Linked DNA regions of Homo sapiens: regions 2, 3, 4, 5, 6 and 7 are each linked to region 1. Evidence: promoter capture Hi-C in 16 types of primary human blood cells and fetal thymus (Javierre and others, 2016). All regions are on one chromosome and are shown on one strand. Each heading gives the region's core, a stretch centred on a gene start or on the middle of the fragment in contact. The rest is flanking DNA. Distances are from core to core; before and after follow the strand shown. Region 1 holds the start of ZNF235 (zinc finger protein 235). Region 2 overlaps ZNF283 (zinc finger protein 283). Region 3 overlaps ZNF404 (zinc finger protein 404). Region 4 has its middle 5.2 kb from the start of ZNF404. Region 5 overlaps ZNF45-AS1 (ZNF45 antisense RNA 1). Region 6 overlaps ZNF45 (zinc finger protein 45). Region 7 overlaps ZNF221 (zinc finger protein 221).

Region 1 (3,815 bases), core at 794-3,293:
TGAAGCCGAACACAAATTAGAAAACAATTCAAGATTTTACACATGCCCATATTACAACGTTGTCTTAGATTCCCGGCCAATGGAGCTGCTTTTGTTTGCCATAACAGTACACATTTAAAATAAATGAAGTTCAAGATATTTCTCTGGCTTAATATTTATATTGCCTTTTTGTGGGTTCTTAGTATATTAGAACGAATAGCACATTAAACAAAACACTGTCATGAGCCCTTAGGTACCTTGAGGAATAATGGAGGGAAAAGAGTCAAACACTTTACTCCCTTCTCTCCTTGTCACCGACCCCTAAATATACACAACTTGGACACTAAGGACTAAAACTCCATCCTCTTTCCCTGCCCCTCACTGATACGGAAGAGGGGAATGGAAGTGCTGGAGGGGAGAAGGGTGTGGTCCCTGACTAGGGCTCTACCCCCAGGCCTGTGGCCACGGACCTAGGTGAGGACAGGCATTCCTGCCTTTGTGCCCAAATATTGCATTTCCCAAGACCACCCTGGCCCACCACGCCCCCATCCTGTGCCTATAAAAACCCTGATACCCTAGCAGGCAGAGACACAAGCTGCTGGACGTTGAGAGGAGAGCATTGGCGGACACACAAACAGCTGGCTGTCGAGAGGCTGTCGAGGGGAGCGGGTCGGCAAAAGAGCACACTGAAGAGACCGGCAGGCCAGCAGGCCATTAACCGGTGGAATAACGCAGTTTGGCCTGGGTAGTCGGAGGAGCGCCCAGGCCGCTGAGAGGCTGACTCCAGGCGAAAACCATCTCCCTTCTGGCTCCCCCTTCTGCTGAGAGCTACTTACAAATCGTTCTCCAAGGTTTCTCCAATCCTTGCACTCTTTCTCCAAGCCTATGTGTGATGCGATTCTTCTGGTACACCAAGGCAAGAACCTCTGGGATACAGAAAGCCCTCTCTTGCTTGCGATAAGTCAGGGGTCTAATTGAGCTAACACAAGCCTCCTACAGATGGCTGAACTAAAAAAGCACCCTATAACACACGCCCACTGGGGCTTCAGGAGCTGTAAACATTCACCCCTAGACACTGCCGTGGGGTTGGAGCCCTACAACCTGCCCGTGTGCATGCTCCCCTAGAGGTTTGAGCGGCTGGGCACGAAGAAGCGAGCCACACCCCATCACATGCCCTGGGAGAGGGAGAAGTGAACTTTTCCCGTTTCATCACAATTTACTTTCGGCACTAACATGATTGTTCAGCTGTCTTCATCAGCAGGCCTTTATTCCAGGAGATTCCTGCCCAAGCAAACTGTTTAATTGTTCATTATGGGAACTTCCACAGAGACCCATCAAATTTTCAATCTCTTCCAAAGAAAGTGTCAATAGATTGCAATTTAAGATTCTTTGCTTCAAAAATCCTTGCTATATCCACCAATCCTGGACTGTAGTATCATGATCATTATGCAATACTAATAAAATCCCTTGCATTGAAAGACCCGCCTTAAACATCCAGTTCTCAATCAGTTCCAACCTTGCCTTGACACTTTGCTCTGTGAAGGTGCCAACGCTCCGTCGAAGTGTTGTTCTCCATTACTGCAATCAACAATAAATTCTGTTTTTTGTCTTATCAACAGGTTGAGTTGATGATATTTGGGGAGCCGGCATTTGACACAAGTTTGAGATCTGGTGTTCCTTAACGTTCAGCGTCCATCGGAGCTCAGCCTAAGTCACTTTTACGCTTCCCATTTTAGCCTACCCTCTGCTTCTGCGAAAAATTTTGGTTTCTAACTTATTTTAATAATACAAGCTGCACTTTTCATTTTTATATGTCATCACTTTAAAAATTTTACAATTATTTTCTCATGAGCTTTTAAAAATGAATAAAACAAAAACGAATCTCACAGTAGTAGCACCAGAGAAGTGGCTCAAACCCAACCGGCTTGAGTCAAAACAAAGCCCAGCTGGTGGGAAGCGCTGCCCTTGGAGCATTCTGGGAACTGTAGTCCAGGAGTGAGAGAACTCTGAGACGCTTCCGCTTAGGAATTCTGGGAAGTGGAGTCCACGAACCGTGGGCACTCGGAGGCACTTCCGCTCCAGGAAGGCGAGGTCGGATCTGAGATATCTCCCAGGGAGGTGAGTCAGCTCCGGGTCTCCAAGACTTCTCCGAGCCCTCTTTGCCTAGGCGTGGGGCCAGCAATGAACCCGTCCTTGGCTTGGGGAAGAGAAGCCGCGGCCAGCGCTGGAGGGCGGGGTTGGGAGGCTGCGGGAGTTTGCGTCCCCTCGGCAGAACCTCTTGCGTGGGAGGCGGGCTCGCGTCGTCCTTCGAGGTTGAGGGTCTGCTGCCCTAGCCGTCCTCACGCACCTACCAGCCAGTCCTGCCTGCTCCTCGCAGTAAAATATTGGGCAAGTTACTTAATCTCTCCTTGTCTCAGTTTCCTCGTGCCTGTAAAGGGTTAGTGCGTTCCCAGTGATGTTCTTGTGAGAATTAAATGAGGTTTTATAGAAATAAGCTTAAAACCAGTGCATAGGAAAATGTTGGATGCCACCGTTAATTCTGTTATAATACTGAAAAAGACGCCTGTTGTTTGGAAACTCCTCTGAGTCTAGGAGATCCAGCTACGGAGCCGCTGTCCCTTCTCTAATCCTTGCCTGATGTGGGGCCGTTCCTGGATTCTTGGACTTTTCTAGCCTCTTGTTTAGGAGACAGGAATTAGTTCCAGCGGAGCCTGGGGAATGTCCTGTGTGTTTTATCTCAGATAAGCGATCGTCATTACGGATTTGCAGAGTGCCAGAGGTGTCCTGAGGCCCTAATAAATGTTCAGTATAATGTGGTTATAACCAATAATCCCGTGTGGTTAACTTAAGTGTAACACCATTTCTTAGAGAGTTTTAGGTTTTTATTAGTCATTGCTTTCATGCATGTGGAAAAAGAGACTTTCTTGAGGCTCCTCCAGCTTAGTAACATTTGCAAGTAATTACATCTGTTGGAGGAAAAAAAAACCTGTGGCAGTTTAACTATCATTACCAACGGAACTAATTATGTTAGACAACCAATCACAGTTACAGACTTTTCTGAGGGTAATGGTAACTCACAGGACAGAGCAATTATTTTTGAGTTCTGGGTTTCTTAAAAGATTCATTTTCTAGAAAGCATACTCAAAAGGGCAGTTTTATGAAGCATAATAGCACTTGCTTGTCAGAAGCTGCAGGAAATAGAGAATACAGGCATTATTATTGTCCCCATTCACAGGTAACTGAATTAAGGCACAGAGAGATTAATAATTCGCTTAAGGTTTATACTGCTGATCAGTTGAAAATAGGTAGAAATGCCAAAATTTGAAGCCAGGCATTTTGGCTCTGTTACATTCCCCTGCCTGTCTGTGTCTCATTTCCTTGGAAACTAAAGTTCAGAAGGAGTACACAGAGAGCTGTATTTGATTTAGGTCTGTTAATATGAAATGTTCATGAACAAAAGCAGCTGGTTGAGGGGGCCGAGGGGTAGCTGGGAGCTAGCTCCCGTTCTCCTCACTAAGCCGTGTGCAACTGTGTCTGCCTAGAGACAGGGGGACCTTTCTCTGAAGTGTCACATAAAAGTGCCATGGTGACTAATGCCATCCCTAACCTATCTCATGATGCCTTTCCCTCCCTCAGGTTCACTTCCCCGGAACTCTGCCTTTTCCCAGAAGGAGGAGGGGAAAAATGACCAAGTTCCAGGTAAGTTTGGTTTGCCTTTGTGTTTCTTAAAATGACATCTCATTTCACAAAGATTGGACACATTTTTCCTGTTTGGGAACAGTAAAAGGGAACGAAAGGCACTTGGAATGTTGTTATATGCCAGGTTGTTGCCTTTT
Region 2 (3,815 bases), core at 722-3,221, 460 kb after region 1:
TTTTCATGCTTTTAGCTACCTTATACTACACATCTAAACTATTTTTAAATAGAACAGAATTTTTTATTTAAATAAAAATTAAAATCTTGCTACCTTCTCATTATTTTAAATATTGTGTTGATGTTCTGATTAATTAGTCACAACTATTGTTCTTGTCAAAAGCTCCTCTGACAACTCTTTTTGTTAATGCCTTTTCCAATTCAGAATAATGAAACAGATTGTAACAGATTATGTCTTTCACATAAAATCTGCCTTTCAGGTTTCCTAAAAGGCCACTGAGCAAGCACAAAGATTTGCTCTTTCGCTTACAAAAGATACTAGAAACAATCAGGTTTCTTTGACATAATCCAGAATTTACTTAGCCCAAAACTACTATGACTGTGTTTTTGTTTATATAACCCCAGGTATATTAAAAACCAAAAGCTGACAATAAAAAGAGAAGTTTGGCCTTTCTAGGCTAATAAGTTACTTGTTATTAAAAGGTACCTGTCCCAGCAATAATGTACTTGTCAAGTTGGAGAAGATGTATATTCATATTCATGTACCCACAGGTTATGACTTTCTATAAATTAATTTTAAGAAAGATTGTGTACCTAGGTTTAAATACCCTTGTCAATTTGGAACAATCGTAATACTCTTTCATTGTCCATAATGTGTTTTGACTTCAAGGTAGTCACTTACTTTATCCTTATAAATTAATTAGGTTTTATACCTCAATAGAGGATTTAATTTTTTTCCATTATGAAGTTGTTGTTTATTATATTAAATTAACCAGAGCCATTGAGCCTTAACAACTACAAGAAGGTTTTTCCAAACTCAAATCTACTGACATTTGGGCCCAAATCATTCTTGGTTGTGCGGGGTTTTCATGTGCCTTGCCTGTTGATGACTGTATAACATTTTGGTTGAGCTATTAAATGATGGATGATTATTGTGATGTGAATGTGGGAAGTAAGTTTAATCATATATAGTTGGTCACAGGTCTAAACTGCACTATTGCTGTTTCATTTAACAATGTCTTGCTGCTTTTTATGCATTAACATTTGGGTGTAAAGATTCTGTGGATAACCAAAACAAAGCCACAGTATTTAAGCTGACCAACCTAATATTCCAACTGAATATGGAGGTGACCAATTATGAACTAAAAGGAGTACAGTTTTGTACAACATAGCATCAGTAGTTTAGCGAATTTTAATTTCTATGTAAGGCTTAGATTTTAATTTAACATTATAGATTTAGATTTAACATTTTAGTTACTTACTACTTATGTTTTATGTAAGGTTTTACAGTGTCAGTAAATAAATATGGGTTTAACTTCTTAAATGTCAAGAAAAATCATTGAGGACCCAAAAGACTTTTAGTTTATGTAGTTATATATTTTGATATTTGTCATGTTAAAAATTTAAACAGAGAAATTTTAAGATATTTACTAATTCACTTAAAATAACAATAAACCATTAACTGTTAACATAAATGATTTGTTATAAAAATAATCTTTTCTAAAACAAAACAAAAGATGTTTTAAATTTTTTCAAATCTTTTAAATGGATGGTTTAATAAAAGACACCTGGATTCTCATATCTGCTTCTGCATTCAATCTATGGCAATATGTTATTTAGGTTGAAATATATGAAGAAAATCATATATATGAAGTATATGAAGAAAATCTAGCCTCTCATGGTACATAGTTGGAAAATGGCAGAATATTTTACTAGTCCATGCAGATAACTGTGGATATTTTTCTTTGACACCACCCTAAAACTTAAGAAATGGTAGTGTCTGGCAGGTTAAGTACAATGTGGAATATAAAATCATATCTGTGAACTTTTCATACTATGTTACATTGCACTTTGAATAATCTTTTATCCATGTGTAATTTTGTAACATCATACACTGGTCATTTGGAAAATACTGATTCAAAGAGTTATGCAGATCTTTGAAATGTTGACGTAGTTCACTATACAACATCAAAAAATCACATGTTAATATTACCACCCATCTCATAAAAAATCTTAATGTATTAGGAAGCTATAAAGCTCAAAATTATGAATAAACATTTTACAAAATTCTAATTTTAACATGACAGATTGAATTATATCATTGGCAACAAATATTAGTTATTTTTGAAGTGACAGGCTCACTTGCAAGAAAATGTTTTCCTACTGCCCAAGTCTGAACAAACAAAGTTTTTCATTCTTTGGTGAAAAATATGGTGTTTTGTCAAAAAAGCAGTTGGTTTAACTCACAATTTTTTTGGGGGTGGGGACGTAGTCTCACTTTGTCACCAGGCTGGAATGCAGTGGCACGATCTTGGCTCACTGCAACCTCCGCCTCTCGGGTTCAAGCGATTCTCCTGCCTCAGCCTCCCGAGTAGCTGGGACTACAGGCGCGTGCCACCATGCTCAGCTAATTTTTGTATTTTTAGTAGAGATGGGGTTTCACCATGTTGGCCAGGATGGTCTCGATCTCTTAACCTTGTGATCTGTCCGCCTTGGCCTCCCAAAATGCTGGGATTACGGGCATCAGCCACAGAGCCTGGCCTTTAACTCACAACTTAAACAACTGTACAAGTGGTTTTCTTCAAGGCAACCATCATACTTTGGTATACAGCAGAAGACCTTAATGGATACTTCCCATTTCATTACATAGAATATTTTTTAAATGTATATATAATCAAGGGTTGAGATTTAATAAAATGAATACTGCTTCTTCAAGATGTTCTTAAGTGAAAATGGGTTTTTTCTTAACACATTTTCTTTGTGTGTGGAGGTAAAGAATATGATGATTACTAGTACTATTTGGTGCCTCTGCCTTTGCTCATGCTAAAGCAGAGAAGATTCACCATGGCTTCTACACCACCAGTGGAAGTGTCACCACAGTGAAAAAGGCAAACCTCTCAGTATTGTTATGAGAATATTTTTCACTTTGTGAAAGGTTTGGCCCACTGAAAGGTTCTTGGGAACTCCCAGGGGTCTTCAGTCCACAGTTTGAGAACCACTGCCCTACCTAGAGTAAGAATTATGTCCAGGACTAAGGATAAAACCAAACTGTACCTGCCTTCAAAAATCAACTCTTAAAAAGATCATTGTGATCTGCTATTAATTTAACTGCTTGCCTGAACAGTTTAACTATTAGGAAGATAATAAAATCCCCAAGTCACTACAACATGGCATCTACAATGGCCAGTATACAATGAGAAATTGTAAGACCGGTAAAGAAGCAGGAAAATTTGACACAAGATTTAGAGAAAATACAGTCAATAAAAGCAGACCCACAAAACCAAATGTAAATTCTATAACTATAAAATGTAGGTGGAATGAAATCTTTATTGGATAGGCTTAACAATAATTGGACACTATCAAAGAAAAAAAAAACAGTGACTTCAAGACAGGTAAATAGGTATTACCAAACTGAAGTACAAAGAGTAAAAAGACTGGGGGTTGCACCTCCGTGACTGGTGGCACCATATAAGTGGTCTAACACACATATAATTGGAGTCTTAGGAGGAGGAAAAGTACTAAAGAAGCAGAAAAAAGTATTTGAAGATACAATGGTTGAAATTTCTCCAAATTCAATAAAAAAATCAACCCACTGATCAAAGGTAAGGGAAAGTGAAGCATGATAAATGTAAAGGAACCATATCTAGAACTTTATAGTCAGATTATTACAGACCAAAAATAAAGAAAAAACTTAATAACAGAGAATAAAGTATATATAAAATGAACAATAAGAATCATAGCTGTCTAATCATTATATACAATAGAGTTCAGAAGATAATGGAACATTTTTGAAGCTAACTAAAAGAAAAAATATAT
Region 3 (3,815 bases), core at 363-2,862, 430 kb after region 1:
CCACATGAATGTAAAGAATGTGGGAAGACTTTTAAGCTTCATTCATATCTTATTCAACATCAGATAATTCATACTGATTTGAAGCCATATGAATGTAAGCAATGTGGGAAAGCCTTCAGTCGTGTTGGAGACCTTAAGACACATCAATCAATTCATGCTGGGGAGAAACCCTATGAATGTAAGGAATGTGGAAAAACCTTTAGACTTAATTCTCAACTAATTTATCATCAGACAATTCATACTGGTTTGAAACCCTATGTATGTAAAGAATGTAAGAAGGCCTTTCGTTCTATCTCAGGTCTTTCTCAACATAAGAGAATTCATACTGGTGAAAAACCCTATGAATGTAAAGAATGTGATAAGGCCTTTAATCGCAGTGATCGACTTACTCAACATGAGACAATTCATACTGGTGTGAAACCACAGAAATGCAAAGAATGTGGTAAGGCCTTTAGTCATTGCTATCAACTTAGTCAACATCAAAGATTTCACCATGGTGAGAGACTCTTAATGTAATGAGAGGGAAAGCCTTTAGCCATGGCACATTTTTACTGTTGTCACTATTATGATGCTATAGTGAAGATTAAACTAGTTAATATAGAATATAAATACTTGGAAAGGCATCTGGCACATCGTATTTGCTTACTAAATACATTATTTTTATGATAATTGTTAGAATTACTAAAAATAAATCTTATAGAAGGAAGACCCTATGAGTGTGATATTTTGAAAATGCTCTATCATCACTTCATATAATTTATTCTGGACAAAATCCTGTAGAATATATTAAATGAGAAATTTTTAAATTCAGAATTCATACCCCTGAAGATTAATGCTGGAATAAATAATGTGTATTTATTGAATAATGAAAGGATAGCTGTTGAAAATTAGAGAGTGGTTTAAAGAAATTTTTTCACAAATCCTATAATACAGATAACACATATTTTGCATCCTCTACAATTAAAATAAATTAGAAATGAACAGTTAGGTAGCCAAAAGACAGATATTAACTTGGAAAAGTTTTCCCTAAGTTTATGAAAATGTTAAGATTTACATCCTTACAGAAAAGGTAGCTGTTTACAGTGGTGCAGTGAAGGCTTGTTTGCCCTTCACCTAGTTTCAGTACATCTGATGTCTCTCTTTTTTATGTGTATACTAACACATATATACACACAAATACATATATACCATGCATGTCTTATGTCTATGTATATACACAGATGCATATATATATATATCATACTTATTACACATGAATATATGTATATATTACATATATCACTTTTCCTGTTTTTTGAGTGAATGTTTTAGGTATCATTCACCTCTAAAAAAAAGGCAACATACAACTGCTAGGATCAAAGATAATCTTCTAGATGTCTACTACACCATTGTCACAAAAAAATTAACAGTAACCCTATAATGTCTTAAAATATTCACTCCATTTGCAAATTTCTCCAATTTTTAAAATAATGTCTTTTAGCACTGTCTTTTTCACAAGCCAAGAACCAAACTAATCTCATATATTTTATATGATTATGGCTTATTAAGTCTCTTTTAGTCAAGAGCCTACCCTTCATCATTTTGTGACATAGACTTTTTGAAGACTTTAGATTTGACCTAAATAGTGTTGCACATGCTGTGTTTGTCTTATTGTTTCTGGAGGTGTGATTAACTTGTTTCTTTGTCCTCTATATTTACTGTGACCTGGAGGTTATGATTAGAGGCTTGATTGGGTTTCAGATTAAACATTTTCAAAAGACTACTTCATAGATAGTATCATGTACTTAATATTGTAAAGTATCAGGTGGCCTACAAGTGAAACTATGTTTTATCCCTTGATTCATGTATTGACCACCAGCTCCTTCCATTGTTATGGGTGAATTTTTTCTTTGCAATTAAATAAGTAATCCATGGAAAGTCATGTTGGAAATTTGAACAGTCTTCTGTATTCTATTTTTAGAGATGGGGTATTGCTATGTTGCCCAGGCTGGAATTCAGTGGCTATTCACAGATGTTATATAGCACACTACAGCCTTGAACTCCTGAGCTCAGGCAATCCTCCTGCCTCAACCTCTGGAGTAGCTGGGACTATAGGCACACAGTGCTACACCCAGTTGCTTAAAGAAATTAAGATGAAAATCCTCATCTTTTATATTTACCCATATATTTACTATTTCCCATGCTGTTTATTTCTTTCCAGAGATCTGAATTTTTCTCTGGTATCATTTCCCTACAGTTTGAGGAACTTAACTTAGCATTTCTTGGAGTGAACGTCTGCTGGTGATGAATTTTCATAGTTTCTTTTACTGAAATGCCTTTATTTTTTAAGGATTTCTTCTGGCTATAGAATTCTGGGTTGGCAGTTTTTTGGAGATATATGAATATATGTGTGTGTATATGCACACACACAAAGAATACACACACATATATATACTCATAAAGAGATATATATTGTTTCATATATGTATATATAAATCACCGACTTCTGGTCTTCAAGTCTCCATAGTTTACAAGAAGAAGTCATTTGAATTGTTTTTTCTCTTATGTAATGTGTCCTTTTTCTCTGGGTGCTTTCCAGATTTTCTTATTACTTTTGGTTTTCAGCTGTTTGAGTATGAGGTGCCTAGGTATGGTTTTCTTTGTGTTAATTCTGCTTGGGGTACTCTGAGCCTCTGAAATTTGCACACATGTGCCTTTCACCAAATTCCAGAAATTCTTGGCCATTATATCTTCAAATATTTTTTCTGCATTTACTCTACTCATACGTTAAATCTTTTGGTACTGTCCCACAGGTCACTGTCTTTGTTATTTATCTTCAGTATTTTTTTTCTGTTCTTCAGCTTGGACAACTTCTGTTACTCTGTTTTCAAATTCACTTATTCTTTTTCTCTGTCATTTCAGTTCTGCTGCTAAGCCTATCTATCAAATTGTTTAATTTCAGATATTACATTTTTCAGTTCTAGAATTTTCCTTTAGTACTTTTATAGTTCCTATTTCTTTACTAAGATTGCCTATTTCTTCATTGCATGCATCTTTTCACAAGGCTTTTCAGTCCTGTTAAAATCCTCTATATATTGATTCATGCTAGAAAAATATATAAAATCATTATTATGAACTTATACAGTGAAAAGTTTTCATTTCAATGAATGTTCCTATTATTTTCACTAGGTCACGAAAAAAAAGCTTTCCTTTCCTTGGAGTTTCAGATTTTGCTTATTCATATGCAATGTGATACTGGTGAGAAAAAAAATCACTGTCTTCTTTTTCCTTTATTATTAAATATTTGGAAAACTTTCTTTAAAGAAAATCTTGAACTGGAGTTCAAAGTACGAGAAATCTTTGTAAATGTCTTACACCATTAAACAGATGAGCATTGGGAAAGAACATAAGATTAATTGTTCTCTATTTCTTTTTTGTTTTGTTTTGTTATGTTTTTTTGAGACGGAGTCTCACTCTATCACCTAGGCTGGAGTGCAGTGGCGCGATCTCGGCTCACTGCAAGCTCCGCCTCCCAGGTTCATGCCATTCTCCTCAGCCTCCCGAGTAGCTGGGACTACAGGTGCCCACCACCACACCTGGCTAATTTTTTGTAGTTTTAGTAGAGACGGGGTTTCACCGTGTTAGCCAGGATGGGCTTGATCTGCTGACCTCATGATCGCCCCCCTCAGCCTCCCAAAATGCTGGGATTACAGGCGTCAGCCACCAAGCCTGACCTCTATTTCTTTTAACAGTTCCATGAAGTAGTCGTGATTCATAATATTTACATGTATATACTTCATAGGTATATTCTTTATACAGTAGAGCAAAGCAGTTAG
Region 4 (3,815 bases), core at 928-3,427, 420 kb after region 1:
TTTCAAGGAATTTTAAAATTTCATCTACATTTTCAAGTTTATTAGAAAGTTATAAAGTTGTTCATACAATTCTGATTTTAATGTATGTAGTAAAATAGGTAGTGTTATCTTCTTTTATATTCCTGATATTGGCAATTTTTTCTTGATCAGTGTAACTAGAAGTTTATTATTCTTATTAATCTCTTCAATGAAATAGCTTTGGCTTTATTGATTTTTCTTTATTGTATATCTGGGGTTTTTTGTGTTATTGGTTACTTTTGGTATGTTATACTTTCTATAGGTTTAATTTGCTTTTCCTTTTCAAGCTTCTTGATGTATATCACTGATTTTCAACCTTTCTGTTTTGACAAAACATATATTTAAAGCTTATATCTTCATAAGCATTGGTTTACCTGCGTCTCACAAGCTTTGATATATCTTACTTTCACTATCATTTAACTCAAAATATTTTCTAGCTTCCATTGATTTATTATTTGACCAGTAACTATTTAGAAGTATGCCTTTTACACAGGCACATCTCATTTTATTGCATGTTGCTTTATTGCACTTTGCAAATATTGCAATTTTTACAAATTGAGATTTGTGGTAACCCTGCATTCAGCAAGTATATTGTCTCTGTTTTTCAACAGCATGTGCTCATTCTGTGTCTCTTTGTCACATTTTGTAATTCTAGCAATATTTAAAACTTTTCCATTATTTTTATGGTGATCTGTGATCAGGGTCCTTGGTGTTACTGTTGTAATTGCTTTGGGACACCGTGAGCCACACCCATATAAGACGGTGAACTGAATGAATATATGTTATGTGTCTTCTGACTGCTCCACCGACCAGCTATTCCTGTCTCTCTTCCTCTCTTTGTTTTCCTGAAACACAACAATATTGAAATCAGGCCAGTTAGTAGCCCTACAATAGCCTCTAAGTGTTCAAATGAAAGGAAGAGTCCTCTGTTTCTCACTTTTAATCAAAAGCTAGAAGTGATTAAGCTTAGTGAGGAAGGCATGTCAAAAGCCAAGACGGGCCAAAAGCTTGACCTCTTGTGCCAAACAGTTAGCCTAGTTGTGAATGCAAAGGAAAAGTTCTTGAAGGAAATGAAAAGTGCTTCTCGAGTCATATGGAGATACTGCAATACAGAGAAAGATTAGTGGTCCACATAGAAGATCAAGCCAGCCACAAAATTCCCTTAAGCCAAAGCCAGAGCAAAGACCTAACTGTCTTCAATTTTGTGAAGTCTGAGAGACATGAGGAAGCTACAGAAGAAAGGTTGGATGCTAGCAGAGGTTGGTTCATGAGGTTTAAGGAAAAAAGTCATCTCCATAACATAACAGTGCAAGGTGAAGCAGCAAATGCTGATATATACGCTGCAGCCAGTTGTCCAGAAGATCTAGCTAAGATTATTGATGAAGGTGGCTACATTAAACAAAAGATTTTCCATGTAGACAAAACAGTCTTCTGTTGGAAGAAGATACCATCTAGGACTTTCATAGCTAGAGAGAAGTCAATGCCTGGCTTCAAAGGACAGGCTGACTCTCTTATTAGAGGCTAATGCAGCTGGTGACTATAAGTTGAAGGTGATACTCATTCACTATTCTGAAAATTCTAGCGCCCTTAAGAATTGTGCTAAATCTACTCTGCCTGTGCTCTAGAAATGGGACAACAAAGCCTGAATGACAGCACATCTGTTTATGGCATGGCTTACTCAATATTTTAAACCCACTGTTGAGACCCAATGCTCAGAAAGGAAAAAAAAGACTCCTTTCAAAATATTACTGCCGATTGACGTTCCACCTGGTCATCCAGGAGCTCTGTTGGGGATGTATGGAAAAGATTAATTTTGCTTTCATGCCTACTAACACAACATCCACCCTGCAGCCCATGGATCAAGGAATAATTTCAACTTTCAAGTTTCATTTTTTAAGAAATACATTTCATAAAACTCTAGCTGCCATAGATTGTGATTTCTCTAATGGATCTAGGCAAAGTGAATTGAAAAGCTTCTGGAATGGATTTAACATTCTAGATGCCATTAAGAACACTCCTGATTCATAGAAGGAGGTCAAAATGTTTAACAGGAGTTTGGAAGAAGTTGATTCCAACCCTCACAGATAACTTTGAGGGGTTCAAGACTTGAGTAGAGGAAGTAACTGCAGATGTGGCAAAAATAGCAAGAGAACTAGAATTAGACATGGAGCCTGAAGATGTGGCTGAATTTCTGCAATCTCATGATAAAACTTTAATGGATGAGGAGCTGCTTCTTACAGATGAGCAATTAAAGTGGTTTCTTGAGATGGAATCTACTCCTGGTGAAAATGCTGTGAATGTTGTTGAAATAAAAACAAACAATTTTGAATAGTACACAAGCTTAGTTGATAAAGCAGCACCAGGGTTGGAAAAGATTGACCCCAATTTTGAAAAAAGATCCCCTGTGGGTAAAATGCTATCAAACAGCATCACATGCTACAGAGAAATCTCTTGTGAAAGGAAGAGTCAATTGATGTGGCAAACTTCATTATTGCCTTTTTTTTTTTGAGACAGAGTCTCGCTCTGTCACCCAGGCTGGAGTGCAGTGGAGCGATCTCGGCTCACTGCAACCTCTGCCTCCTGGGTTCAAGCGCTTCTTCTGCCTCAGCCTGCCGAGCGAGTAGCTGGGACTACAGGTGCGTACCACCATGCCCAGCTAATGTTTGTATTTGTAGTAGAGACAGAGTTTCACCATGTTGGCTAGAATTGTCTCGATCTCTTGACCTTGTGATCCACCCACCTCAGCTTCTCAAAATGCTGGGATTACAGGCATGAGCCACCGCACCTGGCCCATTATTGTCTTCTTTTAAGAAACTGTCATAGCCATCCCACCCTTCAGCAACCCTGATCAGTCAGCAGCCATCAACATCAAGGCAATACCTTCCACCAGCAAAAAGATTATGACTCTCTGAAGGCTCAGATGACCATTAGCATTTTTTAGCAATGAAGTATATTTAAATTAAGGTATGCACCGTATTTTTTAGGGATAATGCTATTACACACTGAATAATACAGTATAAACATATCTTTTCTATGCACTGGGAAACCAAAAAATTCATGTGATTCACTTTACTGCAATGTTCACTTTAGCATGGTGGTCTGGGGCCAAGCCTGCAATATCTCCACAGTATGTCTGTATTTGGAAACATTTGAGAACTGCCTCTTTTTGAGTTCTAAGCTAATTGTAAAGGCTCAGAAAATATACATTGTTTTATGTTAATCCTTTGTAATTTATAGATACTTACTTTATAGCCCAGAATGTTATTCTGATAAATGTGATGTAATCATTTGAACAGAATGTGTAGTCTGCAGTTTGGTATAATGTTCATTTGGTTCAATTTGGTTAATCTTCTTCACACTTTTATGGCTTTGTGGATTTTTTTTTCTTTTTTTGGTGTTCCTATTAGTAGTTACCAATAGAGAGTGTTGAAATCTCTAACTTTAAAATTTGTCTGTCCTTTAATTCTGTTGACATTTATTTTATATTTTTTGAAACTATGTTATTAGGTACATACAAATATAGGACTACTGTTGTATTCTTGCTGAATTGCAGAATATGACCCTCTTTATTACTTACAATACTTCTTGCATTAAAATCTACTTTATTTGTTATTAGTATAGCTGTGTCTGTTTTCTTCGCAATACTGCTTGATAGATTTTTTCCATTTTTTTAAACACGTGTCTTTATATTTAGAGAACGTTTCTTGTAAGCAGCCTAATTGATCCTATTTTTCTTTTTAACCTAATCTTATAATATTAGTTTTGAATTGCAATGGTTAGTTCATTTGTATTTACTA
Region 5 (3,815 bases), core at 717-3,216, 400 kb after region 1:
TGGGACGCCTGCTGGCAGGCCCAGCATTGTTGGAGTTTTATCTCTTGGATGACATGTTCTGTTACTGTTTCACATGTATTATCTGGCAAGTTGAAGAAAGTAGGATGTGGTGTCATGATGAAGGAATAGTGCAGAGTGAAGCATGGATTGTTGGACAATGGGACTGGCGCTGATGTGGTTGTGGAGGTCACTGTGGAGACCACAGAGGGGTAGTTATCATGTCCAGGTCCCAACTGTTAAGCATGAAGGGAAGTATAGTTTTAAAGGCTTTTGTGTAGGGGTCATTTCACCCAAAGGATGAAATTAAGTGGTGTGGCACCAATGGGTGTAAGTTGGCTAGTTTGTAGGGCATTGGCTTACACCAAAAGGGCATCACATGAGGAGCCAATAGAATGGGACAAGGACAAATCTAATCTGCAGTTCCTTGATGCAGAAGAGTAGGTCATTGGCAATGGTAGGTCCCTGTGTGCCGTCATTCATCAGAGTTTGGATATACCTAGATAAGTAAGGGCCTGCCAGTAAGCTTTAGCTTCTTGCAGAGTGTGATTACATTGTGCAGGACAGGAGAATACACAGCTGTAGACAGCTATATAGCAGGCAATGTGGGAGCTTCAGTTAAGTGTGAGGTTTTATGTTAATCTGGCTAGGTGTTGGGCTGTGTTTAATGTTTGATTTAGCTGAAGGTGTCAGAGGTTTCAGTTTTACCTTTCTGTAGTGTCCCTTCTTTTTCCTTCCCTGTTGTCTTTGAATTTCCCTAAGAACTTTAAAAATAGAATCTGTGTCTTGCAGCCTTCTCACTTTTATTATCCTGTTGTTATACAAGAATCCTATTGATATGGTGGTAAAGTGTGGGGAGAGGGGAAGTGTTCTACAATCATATGATTTAATCTGTCTTTTAGTGGGCCTGAGTCCCTGGCCTGTGATCTTCAGACGCAGTTCTTAGTCTTTCTGTTTTCCCCTTAGGTAAGACAGGAAGGCGAGTTGACATATTGCCTTTCTCCCCAGTTATATAAGTATCTGATAAAGTCATTTCCCTTGGATAGCAGTCCTTTGTTATGTGGAACACTCTCAGTGTATTTCAAAATAGTTACTTTTGTCCTCCTCCAAAACATGAGATTTTTCTTGTAAATTCACCATGAGAACCTAGTAGCATTACTGGACGTAAATTCCATGAAAGTGTGAGGCTCCCCCTAAGACTGCGTCCCTGGAAGATTTTTGAAGCTAGCCTCCAATGAATTCTCTAAATTACCAATTAAGCGCTCCTACCAATAGCATTGCTAATTACTTGTTATCAACTAATTGGTAACACTTAGTTACCAACACTTAGTTACCAATTAGCTGGTAATACTTAATTACACTGCTAGTAAATATTACCAATTAGCTGGTAATACTTAATTAGCAGTGTTATTGGTAACACTTAGTTACCAATATTCTTTCCCCGCCTAAATGGTCTTACCTTGGTCCTTCTGCTCCAAGTAAGCTGATCTCCGTTTGCTTGTCTCTCCAGATTTAAGGCTGGTGGTTTGCCTTGTGACCTCTATTATCTGACAGATCCAGAAAAAATTAATTTCTTTAGTTTTTTTTGTTGTTGTTGTTGTTGTGAGGATGGGAGTGATCATCCCAGAAATCTGACTGACTTCCAGAAATTGGATTATCCATTTTTTTTTTATTGTTGAGTTCTAAGAGTTTTTGTATTCTAGATACAAGTCCATTGTCATATGTATGATGGGCAAATATTGTCTCCCATTCAGTGGGTATCTTGTCACTTTCTTGATGGTATCATTTGCAGTAAAAAGTTTGAATTTTGATATACTCCTATTTATTGTTTTGCTTATGCTTTTGGTGTATCCAAAATATCATTGCCTATTCCAAGCTCATGAAGATTTGCCCCTGTGTTGTCTTTGAAGAGTTTTATAGTGTTAGCTCCTATAGGATTTAGGTCAGTGATGTGAGTTAATTTTTGTGTATGGTATAAAGTAGAATTCCAACTTCATTCTTTCTTTGCAGACAGATATCCAGTTGTCTTACCATAATTTGTTGAGAAGACTATTCTTTCCCCTACTAAATGGCCGTAGCACCCTTATTGAAAATGAATCGACAGTGTCAAGACTTACTTCTGGACTTTTAAATCTATTCCACTCATCTCTATGTCTACCCTTGTGCCAGTACCACACTGTAGTTTTCCAGTAACTTTTGAAATTGGGAAATGCGAGTCCTCCAACTTTGTTCTTCCTTTCTAAAGTTGTTTTGGTTATTTTGGGTCCCTTGTGTCTCCATATGAATTTAGGATCAGCTGGTCAATTTCTAGAGGCAGTGGGGTTGGGAGGGGGGAGCCAGCTAGGATATTGTTAAGGACTGCATTGAATCCATAGGTCAATTTGGGAGGTATTGGCATCTTAACAATATTAACTTTTCTTATCCATGAACCACAGATGTCTTTCCTTTTATTTAGGTCGTCTTTAATTTCTTTCAATGATGTTTTATAATTTTCAGTGTACAAACTTTCCTCTTCATTTGTTAACTTTATTCCTTAAGTATTTTCTTCAAATTCTGTTGTAAATGGAATTGTTTTCCTACTTTCATTTTTTGATTATTCATTGCTAGTGTGTAAGAACACAATTTTTTTGCATATTGATCTTCCTGTAACTTTGCTGAACTCATTTACTAGTCTTATTAGTTTTTTGTGATTTCCTTAGGACTTTATGTATATAAAATCATATCTGCAAATATAGCTTTACTTCTTCATTGTACTTCTTCATTTCCATATGGATGTCTCTTATTTCATTTATTTGCCTAGTTGCCCTGGCTAGAACCTCCAGCATGTATCAAATAGAAGTGGTGAGAGTTGGCTGGGCGTGGTGGCTCATGCCTGTAATTCCAGCACTTTGAGAGACTGAGGCAGGGAGATCACTTGAGGTCAGGAGTTCAAGACCAGCCTGGGCAACATGGTGAAACCCCATCTCTACTAAAAATACAAAAATTAGACGGGCGTGGTGGTAGGTGCCTTTAATTCCAGCTACTAGGAGGCTGAGGCAGGGGAATCCCTTGAACACGGAAGGCGGAGGTTGCCGTGAGCTGAGATCGCGCCACTGTACTCCAGCCTGGGCAACAGGGCAAGACTCCTGTCTCAAAAAAAAAAAAAAAAAAAAAAAGTGGTGAGAGTGCACATCTTTGTCTTGTCCCTGATCTTAGAAAGTACTCTGTCTTTCACCATTAAGTATGATATTGGCTGTGGGTGTTTTATAGGTGGTATGTTGAAGAAGTTCCCTTCCATTTCTAATTTGTTGAATGTGTTTTTTATCATGAACAGGTGTGCACATTTCATGGATTTCTCTCTTTTTTTTGTTTCCTTCTGCCTACTTTGGGTTTCAGATGTTCTTTTTTTCTTGTTTCTTAAGGTAAAAGCTTAGGTCACTATATTAGTCTGTTCTCACACTGCTATAAAGAAATCCCTAAGACTGAGTAATTTATAAAGAAAAGAGGTTTAGTTGCTCACAGTGCTGCAGGCTGTACAGGAAACACAGTGGCTTCTGCTTCTGGGGAGGTCTCAAGGAGCTTTTACTTATGGCACAAATCACATGGCTGGAGCAGGAGGAAGAGAGCAAGGGAGGAGGTGCCATGTACTTTCGAACAACCAGATCTCCTGAGAATTCACTCACTATACAGTACCAAAGGCGGATAGTGCTAAACCATTCATGAGAACTCCACACCCACGATCTATTCACCTCCCACCAGGCCCTACCGTCAACACTGGGGATTACAATTTGACATGAGATTTAGTGGGGACACAGATCCAAACCATATCAGTCACTGAT
Region 6 (3,815 bases), core at 535-3,034, 380 kb after region 1:
AAAACCCTTGCTCTCCAAATCTTCCCAACTGGAGTCAGTCTCAGGGAGACTTAGACCAACTAGTCTAGTCTTCCTATATGCCTCTCCATGTCTGATGGTGGGTTCAGTCATTTCTGCTGGGCAATTACTTTGTACAGGAACTGTTTTAGGTACTTGGGATATAAAGCTGAATAAACATTCATCACAAGACAGATGGTTGATTTGCTATTATCTCTTTTTTTTCCCGAGGCGATGGAAATATATCCCCTGCAAAACATTCTTACTGAGCAGAGGTTGCTGGGCAAATATAGAGTTAGAACAAAGTGAATTACAAATTCTAAAAGAGTATTTCAGGCTGGGTGTGGTGGCTTACGCCTATAATCCCAGCACTTTGGGAGGCCAAGGCGGGTGGATCACTTGAGGTCAGGAGGTCGAGACCAGCCTGGCCAAAATAGTGAAACCTCATCTGTACTAAAAAAACAAAAGAAACAAAAAAAATTAGCCAGGAATGGTGGCGGGTGCCCATAATCCAGCTACTGGGGAGGCTGAGGCAGGATAATCTTTTGAACCCGGAAGGCTGAGGTTGCAGTAAGCTGAGATCATTCCACTGCACTCCAGCCTGGGCCACAGCGCAAGACTCCATTTCAGAAAAATAAATAAATAAGTATTTCTTCTAAGATTGGAAGGTTTTATGTTTCCCTTTTCAATAGTAAGGGTTCTTCTATCTGAAGTAAGAGAACTAAGAATAATTTACTAATAAATCAAGCAGTAATTAACTAATACTAAGCTTTTAATCTGGGTATTTTACTCGTTTCCACCCTCCATAGAATCAGAATCATACCCTGAGAGCTACAAGAACTCCATTTTTCACTGTGCAGAGGCTCTCTGCTGAAGGGTCAAGTGGAATCTGGAATCCAGCCCATGTTTCCCCATCATCAAGCCATGTGAAGCTGCAGACTCCGTGAGTGCCTTAGTCCATTTGTGCTGCTATAACAAACAATACCATAGGCTGGGTGGCTTAAACAACAAACCTTTATAACTCACAGTCCTGGAGACTGGGAAGTCCATGATCAAGTCACTGGCAAATCCAATGTCTAATGAGGCCACTCTTACTGGTTCGCAGAAGCTGTTGTCTTGTATCTTCCTGGGAGGAAGAGAGAAAGAGCTAGGTTACTTGCTTTTCTTACAAGGAAAGCAATCCCATTATGGAGGCTTCACCCTCATGACCTAATTACCTCCTAAAGGCCCCACCTCCCAATAACATCACATTAGGGCTTCAACATAAGAATTTTGAGGGGACACAGACATTGGTCCACAGCAGCAAGGGAGGGGCTCCCTGACTGTTTCATGTAAAGCATCTGCATGGGTTTATGTGTAACTTCTATTGATTGTTTAAGCTGCCAGAAACTGTTCCACATGTTTTGTGTATACTTAGTCACTTTCACTGACCTTCCTATGAAGTAGGTATTATTATTACATCCAGTTTATAGATTAGACATTAGAGCACAAAGTACTAGCAAGTTGGACATGCCTGTATTCCAGTACTGGTGGGCTGGTTCTGGAGTCTAGACTGTTCACAACTCTGTTCTCTACTCCCTCAAGCAGCTCCCTTGGCTTCAGAGTCCAATCTCCATTTCTGTGTCTGTCTTTTACCCCTAACTCTGGAGCCCTCATTTCTCCTTCCATGAGATCTTAGACTCCCATCTGCTTATTTTTGTCTTTAGAAGCAACAGAGAGACAAGATTTAGAATACTGGCTCTGGTATGAAAGCTGGATTCAGGTACTGTTCCTGCCTCTTGACCTCACCAAGCCTCAGCTTCCTCGCCTGTTAAATGGATACAATTGTCGTCATTATCATCTGTTGAGAACTCCCTAAAATGCCAGGTACTATGCCAAGGGCATTGCATAAATTCACTCATTGATTCCTCACAGTAATCCTATGATTAACATCCTGTTTTCATTTCCCTTCTTATAGCTGAGCATAGGCACAGAAGTTTAGGTGTTTGGACCAAGGTCACACAACTGATACAACAGTAGCTTCTTCACAGGTATGTGTGAAGTACCTTAATGAAACATCATGTGCCAAGTTCTTCATAAGGTCCCTAATATGTATTTAGTTAAATATCACCATTTTTGTTGTTATTATTGTGCTTCCTATAGCTTGTTAATTTCAGTGACATTATCTAATTTATAGTTGCATAAATCTTGCAGAGTCATGATTTTTTATTAAATTTTCTCTGTCTCTATGATAGTCTTTTTAAGGCCCTACTGTTAAAGTAAATTTTGCAAGGTCTTTTTTTTTTTTTTTAGATTTTTTTTTTTTCTCTTTAGAGATCACTCTGTTGGCCAGGTTGGTCTTGAACTCTTGGCCTCAAGCAGTCCTCCCACTTTGGCCTCCCAGAGTGCTAGGATTACAGGCATGAGCCACTCTACACAGCCAAATTTTGCAAGGTCTTATACCTTTTAGAAACCAGTCCATATAGTCAAATTCATAGAGATAACGTGGTTATCAGGGGCTGGGAGGGGGAATGGGGAATTATTACTTAATGGGTACATAAAAAATTCTGATGATGGATAGTGGTGATGGCTGCACAACAATGTAAATGTACTTACTGAATGTAACCACTTAAAAAATGGTTAAAATGGTAAATTTTATGTTACATATTTTACTATCAAAAAAAGCAGTCATCTATGTACAGTAGTCCCCCCTTATCCACAGCAGATACCTTCCAAGTCCCCCAGTGAATGACTTAAACCTCAGATATTACTGAACCCTAAATATACTATGTTTTTCCTTTACCTACATACTTATGATAAAGCTTAATTTATAAATTAGGCACAGTAAGAGACTAACAACAATAACTTATAATAAAATAGAATAATGATAAAATACTGTAACAAAAGTTCTATAAACATGGTCTCTCTCTCTCTCTCAGAATATCTTACTGCACTGTACTCACCTATTTTTGGGCCATAGTTGACTTCAGGTAACTGAAACCACAGAAAGCAAAACTATGGATAGGAAGGACCACTGTAATCTTAAATACTATTGCAAAAGCCTCAAATTAAGTATGGGAAACCAAGAGAGAATAACAGGTATTTCAGAGGTTAAAGGCGAGGTTAAAGTAGAGGTTAAAAAACCTCTACTAAAGAATTCATCAGCTGAGTGTGGTGGCTCACACCTGTAATCCCAGCACTTTGGGAGGCTGAGGCAGGAGGATCACTTGAGCTCAGGAGTTTGAGACTGGCTCGGGCAACATAGCATGACCTCGTCTCTACAAAAAGTAAAAAAATTAGCTGGACATTGTGGTGCACACCTGTGGTCCCAGCTACTTGGGAGGCTGAGGTGGGAGGATCGCTTGAGCCCAGGAGGTCAAGGCTTTAGTGAGTCATGATTGTGCCACTGCACTCCAGCCTGGGCAGCAGAGCAAGACCCTCTCTCAAAAAAAAAAAAAAAAAAAAAAACAAAGAATTTATTGGTAGAAACCATTAATGAGCACAGGTTTTATGTTATGTGCTTTTCTGCAGCTAAGAAATAAGGTACTCTGAAAATATTCTTTGAGCTTTTTCCCTCATTTAATTTGTAAACAATCCTATGAGATTGTTAATTCTCTCATTGTTAATCTCTTCATTTTATGGATGAAAGAACTGAGGCACAGAGATATTAATAATTTGTCCTGGATTTCATAGCGAATAAATAGCAATGCCATAAATCTAGGCATTTGGCTCCAGAGGGGCCAAATACTCTTAATCTGGGTATTTTACTCTCAATTTCTACTCTCCCTAGAATCAGTCATACCCTGAGAGCCACAAGGAGAAATTATGTTGGGGGCATA
Region 7 (3,815 bases), core at 638-3,137, 340 kb after region 1:
TGTTATTTATTTCATCTCATTTCATATCTGCAAAGTATTCCAGGGCAAAAATGATCTCTTTTTATTTAAATAATGAATACTTCATATTAAATATTTTTTATTATCAATCCTGTAAAGAAAATAATTTTATATAGACTTTATTCTCCTGATTATTTAAAATAATGTCAAATGAAAATGAGAATGTCAATAAACACATTTAAAATTGTGATTACATAATTTCATACTTTCTTCCAAATTTTTTACCTACTTCCCACTCTTCCGAGTGAACACAAGTACCCTTATTCTCCTTATGATGGTTAAGAGCAGGTTGTAAATATTCCCATGGTTTCGGTAATATGATTAGGAAGAAGAATTCATTGTATTAATATCATTCTCACTTATTTGATTATAAATGAGCAGAATGGCTAACATTCCTGACCTTGGTTGCCTATGTGAATCTGAGCAGATTTCTCATATTTTATGAGTTTAAGAGGAAGATGAGACTAAAACCTGCATTCTGCTTCTCTGAGTAAATATAGTAACACAACACAAGTGATTGGCCAATCTTCCAGTATCACTGGACATTTCAAATGAAGGTACCTACTACTTTGGTAAAACTGCTTACTCCATAAAGGAATAAGAAGAGACCAATAAATAACATGCATACAAGGTATGAGTAAGGCATGGCAAACACAGAATCTAGCTCTTCCTGTGTGAAAACTCCAACAACAATATTTGTGGGAAGTAGCAGTCAGAGCCTCATGTGCTGTGCCCTGTTGAAATAATCTACCATCTATAAAACAGCCAATGTAATACATGTCAAAAGTATCCTATCTTGTTTTCAGAATTAATTTTGGGGGGAAGGGGTTATATATAGGAAAGCTGTCACAGCAGTGTTGCTTAAAACAGTAAAATTCCTAAACCACCTAAATGTCTATGAGTGTGAAGTAGTTAAAAATAAGAAGGTACATTAATTCATTGGGACTATGATACCAATATAAAAATGGAACATTATATAATATTATATAAAACGAGCACAATTTAAAATTAGAGGTATGTCATCAATAAAAATACAGTTATGAATGTACATGATGAAGAATACAAGATAAAAACAGCTAATTTGTGAGCAGAGAAGTAGTGAAGTGAAAGAATTATCCATTCCTACTATTTTATCTACTACAGAAAAGAAATTATGTAAGAAAACAAGAACTAAAACCAAACGGAAAGTCAATTCAAAAGCAGCAAAGGAAGCATCTGGCAAACAAAATGCCCTCAAATGCTTGTTGTTCTCCTTGAGTCTTCCCAAGACAGATAAAAATGTGACAATATGAGTAGTAAGATGGAATTTTAACAGCAAGAGAGGCAAGCCCTACTCACTTTGAATGTGGTCATTTTTCCTTCTACTTCAGGGAATTTGCAGAGTCCTGAATGAAGCAGTTCAAGTGAAGGTGAAATCATGCCTGGAAAGTGCCAGGAAAGGCAGAAAAACAGACAGGAAATGGTAACTAGGAATGCCGACCACCAACATAGACAAGTATTTTCAATTAGCACATGAATGTTCATAGCAGCATTACTCATAACCCCAAACTGCAAACAAGCAAAATGCCCTCCTACGGGTAAATGAATAGACAAATCATGGCATATCCATACAACAGAATTTTATTTGGAAATTCAAAGGAGTGAAGAACTGGCTCATGCTACAACATGTATGAACCTTGGAAACATTATGCTAAGTTAAAGAAGCCAGTCTAAAAACCCCATGGATTGTAAAATTCAATTTTATAAAATATCCAGAATAAGCAAATGTATATATAGAGAAAGTAGGTTAGTGGTTGCTCCAGATTTGAGGTGAGAATGAGGTTTAACTGTACATAAGCACAAGGAGTCCAATTGGGGGGCGAAAATGATCTAAACTGAATTATGATGACGGTCACACCACTGTTCAAAGTTCCTGAAGATTATTAAATCGTACGACTGAAATGGGTAAATTCTATGACATGTAAAATACACCTCAATAAAGTTGGAAATAATAACAGTTAATCTACATGTTATTTAACTGGATTGTGGGTCCATATTGATAGAATATTTATAGTTGAAGAAACTGATTAATAAATCAGGGAGAAGTGGAAGCTAATCTTTACAGGATAATGCCCACTAATAATGTATCTCCCGTAAGAAACGTTTTTATTTTCAAAATTTAATTAAAAAGTAACCTTTCAGTGGAAAAATCTGAAAGATATCATCTTGGCCAAGTGAACAAAGTTGAGATCTCCAATGAAGGGAAAAACAGACATCATTTGGCCCCTGTTATGACACTTCAACACTTCTGTGGTATCCACACCAACAATGCATAATCTGAACCTAAACATGAAATACATAAATCCCAAATGACTATCTTTCTATAAAATACTTTGCCTATATACTTCAAGGATGTCAAGAATAAAAAGACAAAGCCTGTTGAATCTTTCTAGATTAAAGAAGACTACAGAAATGTGACACCTAAAAGCAGTACATAAAATTGGACTTTGGACTGGGGGATGGGGGAAAACAGTTACAAGAACTTTAAAAAGCACAACAAATTTAAATATGGGAGTTTGGATAGAAAAGATGATGGTGTCTAGCCATATCTAATAGGTAACAGAATTAACTAATATTAATAGTCTTTTAATTGATATCTAGTATTTAATAGTGATATTACTTAATATTATATCTAATACTACCTAGCATCTTATATGAAACTCTATAGCCAGCCCTTCCTAAATGCCTCTTACCAAGACACTCCATGATCACCTTGCTATGTGGGGTTCCTTGATGCAGAAAGCTACAATAAGTTGTTTCTCATTATAAGTTTGTTCCCAGTGGTATTTGGCTGATGGGTGTTAACAAAGCAAAATACAAAATGTAAATAATTGGAAAATTTGGGTAAAGAGCATATGAAGAGGCAGGTGCTGTGGCTTGAGCCTGTAATCCCAGCTACTTGGGAGGCTGAGGCAGGAGGATAGCTTGAGTCTAGGAGTTAAAGGCTGCAGCAAGTTAGGATTGTGCTACTGTACTCCAGCCAGGGCTCTTAAAGCTCCAACATAATCCTTGACTCCATGTCCCACATCCTGGTATAAGAGATAGACTCCCAAGGCCTTGGGCAGCCAAGTGATATGACTGAGCAGTGGTCTCAGGACCACTTCTCAGAGGGCAGTGGTCCCCTTACCACAGATCCATTAGGTAGTGCCCTAGTGGGGACTCTGTGGGGAGCCCTCACATTTCTCCTTGGCACTGCCCTGGTAGAGGTTCTCTGTTGGGGCTCCCCCACTGTGGCAGGCTTCTGACTGGGATCCCAGGCTTTCTCATACATCCTTTGAAATCTAGGTAGAAGCTGCCAAGCCTCCTTCATGCTTGCATTCTGAGCATCTGCAGCCTTAACACAATGTGGAAACTACCACAACTATCAAGGCTTGAACCCTCTGGAGCTGCAACCCAGCCTGCGCCTGGGGCACTCTAAGCTGAGGCTGGAGCCAGAGTGGCCGGATTCAGGGCACAATGTCTTGAGGCTGCTCAGGGCAGGGGGTCCCTGGGCCTGGCCCTTGGAACCATTCTTTTCTCCTAGGCCCCTAGGCCTGTGATGGGAGGGACTTTCCTGAAGACTTCTGAAATGTCTTCCAGGTCTTTTTCCCATTGTCTCAGATATTACCACTTGGCTTTCTGTTAGTCATGCAAATCTCTTTTGCGAGTGGTTGCTCCACAGCCGACATGTATTCCTCTCCTAAAAATGCTTTTTCTTTCTCTACTAAATGGCCAGGCTGCAAATTTTCCAAACTTTTATACTCTGCTTACCTTTTAAA

Evidence for each region. The method cuts DNA at HindIII sites, captures the fragments that hold promoters and counts their contacts. A CHiCAGO score of 5 or more calls a contact.
Region 2: a fragment that was not itself captured here is called in contact with the fragment with the promoter of ZNF235 in region 1 in 2 of 17 cell types (M2 macrophages and M1 macrophages); the score reaches 6.6 in M2 macrophages.
Region 3: a fragment that was not itself captured here is called in contact with the fragment with the promoter of ZNF235 in region 1 in 8 of 17 cell types (neutrophils, activated CD4 T cells, M2 macrophages and 5 more); the score reaches 8.3 in neutrophils.
Region 4: a contact is called between a fragment that was not itself captured here and the fragment with the promoter of ZNF235 in region 1, in 1 of 17 cell types (M1 macrophages). The highest score is 6.1, in M1 macrophages.
Region 5: a contact is called between a fragment that was not itself captured here and the fragment with the promoter of ZNF235 in region 1, in 2 of 17 cell types (naive CD4 T cells and non-activated CD4 T cells). The highest score is 6.3, in naive CD4 T cells.
Region 6: a contact is called between a fragment that was not itself captured here and the fragment with the promoter of ZNF235 in region 1, in 9 of 17 cell types (total CD4 T cells, M2 macrophages, non-activated CD4 T cells and 6 more). The highest score is 10.3, in total CD4 T cells.
Region 7: a fragment that was not itself captured here is called in contact with the fragment with the promoter of ZNF235 in region 1 in 2 of 17 cell types (non-activated CD4 T cells and M2 macrophages); the score reaches 9.5 in non-activated CD4 T cells.

The regions. Positions count from the first base shown.
Region 1 is chr19:44,303,253-44,307,067 of GRCh38, reverse strand. ZNF235 (zinc finger protein 235) reads left to right here and starts at 2,043. Exons shown (of 5, transcript NM_004234.4): 1 at 2,043-2,097; 2 at 3,616-3,678. The coding sequence starts at 3,664. RefSeq lists enhancers at 129-628, 629-1,130, 1,707-2,260. The HindIII fragment of the contact is 5,796 bases long and covers 1-2,476 here.
Region 2 is chr19:43,841,787-43,845,601 of GRCh38, reverse strand. The region is part of intron 6 of ZNF283 (zinc finger protein 283); the gene reads right to left. Among named protein-coding and RNA genes, the nearest start is that of ZNF283, 16 kb to the right of the region's middle. The HindIII fragment of the contact is 4,496 bases long and covers 1-3,815 here.
Region 3 is chr19:43,869,256-43,873,070 of GRCh38, reverse strand. ZNF404 (zinc finger protein 404) reads left to right here. Exons shown (of 3, transcript NM_001033719.3): 3 at 1-706. The coding sequence ends at 516. Among named protein-coding and RNA genes, the nearest start is that of ZNF404, 13 kb to the left of the region's middle. The HindIII fragment of the contact is 3,147 bases long and covers 39-3,185 here.
Region 4 is chr19:43,887,231-43,891,045 of GRCh38, reverse strand. No RefSeq gene overlaps it. Among named protein-coding and RNA genes, the nearest start is that of ZNF404, 5.2 kb to the right of the region's middle. The HindIII fragment of the contact is 367 bases long and covers 1,994-2,360 here.
Region 5 is chr19:43,905,502-43,909,316 of GRCh38, reverse strand. The region is part of intron 1 of ZNF45-AS1 (ZNF45 antisense RNA 1); the gene reads right to left. Among named protein-coding and RNA genes, the nearest start is that of ZNF45-AS1, 5.5 kb to the right of the region's middle. The HindIII fragment of the contact is 2,882 bases long and covers 526-3,407 here.
Region 6 is chr19:43,922,450-43,926,264 of GRCh38, reverse strand. It overlaps ZNF45 (zinc finger protein 45), which reads left to right. Exons shown (of 10, transcript NM_003425.4): 4 at 807-940; 5 at 1,704-1,863; 6 at 1,955-2,027. It overlaps ZNF45-AS1 (ZNF45 antisense RNA 1), which reads right to left. Exons shown (of 3, transcript NR_184050.1): 2 at 1,011-1,123. Among named protein-coding and RNA genes, the nearest start is that of ZNF45, 11 kb to the left of the region's middle. The HindIII fragment of the contact is 2,032 bases long and covers 769-2,800 here.
Region 7 is chr19:43,960,349-43,964,163 of GRCh38, reverse strand. ZNF221 (zinc finger protein 221) reads right to left here. Exons shown (of 5, transcript NM_001297588.2): 2 at 1,357-1,439. The coding sequence starts at 1,437. Among named protein-coding and RNA genes, the nearest start is that of ZNF221, 11 kb to the right of the region's middle. The HindIII fragment of the contact is 4,158 bases long and covers 1-3,815 here.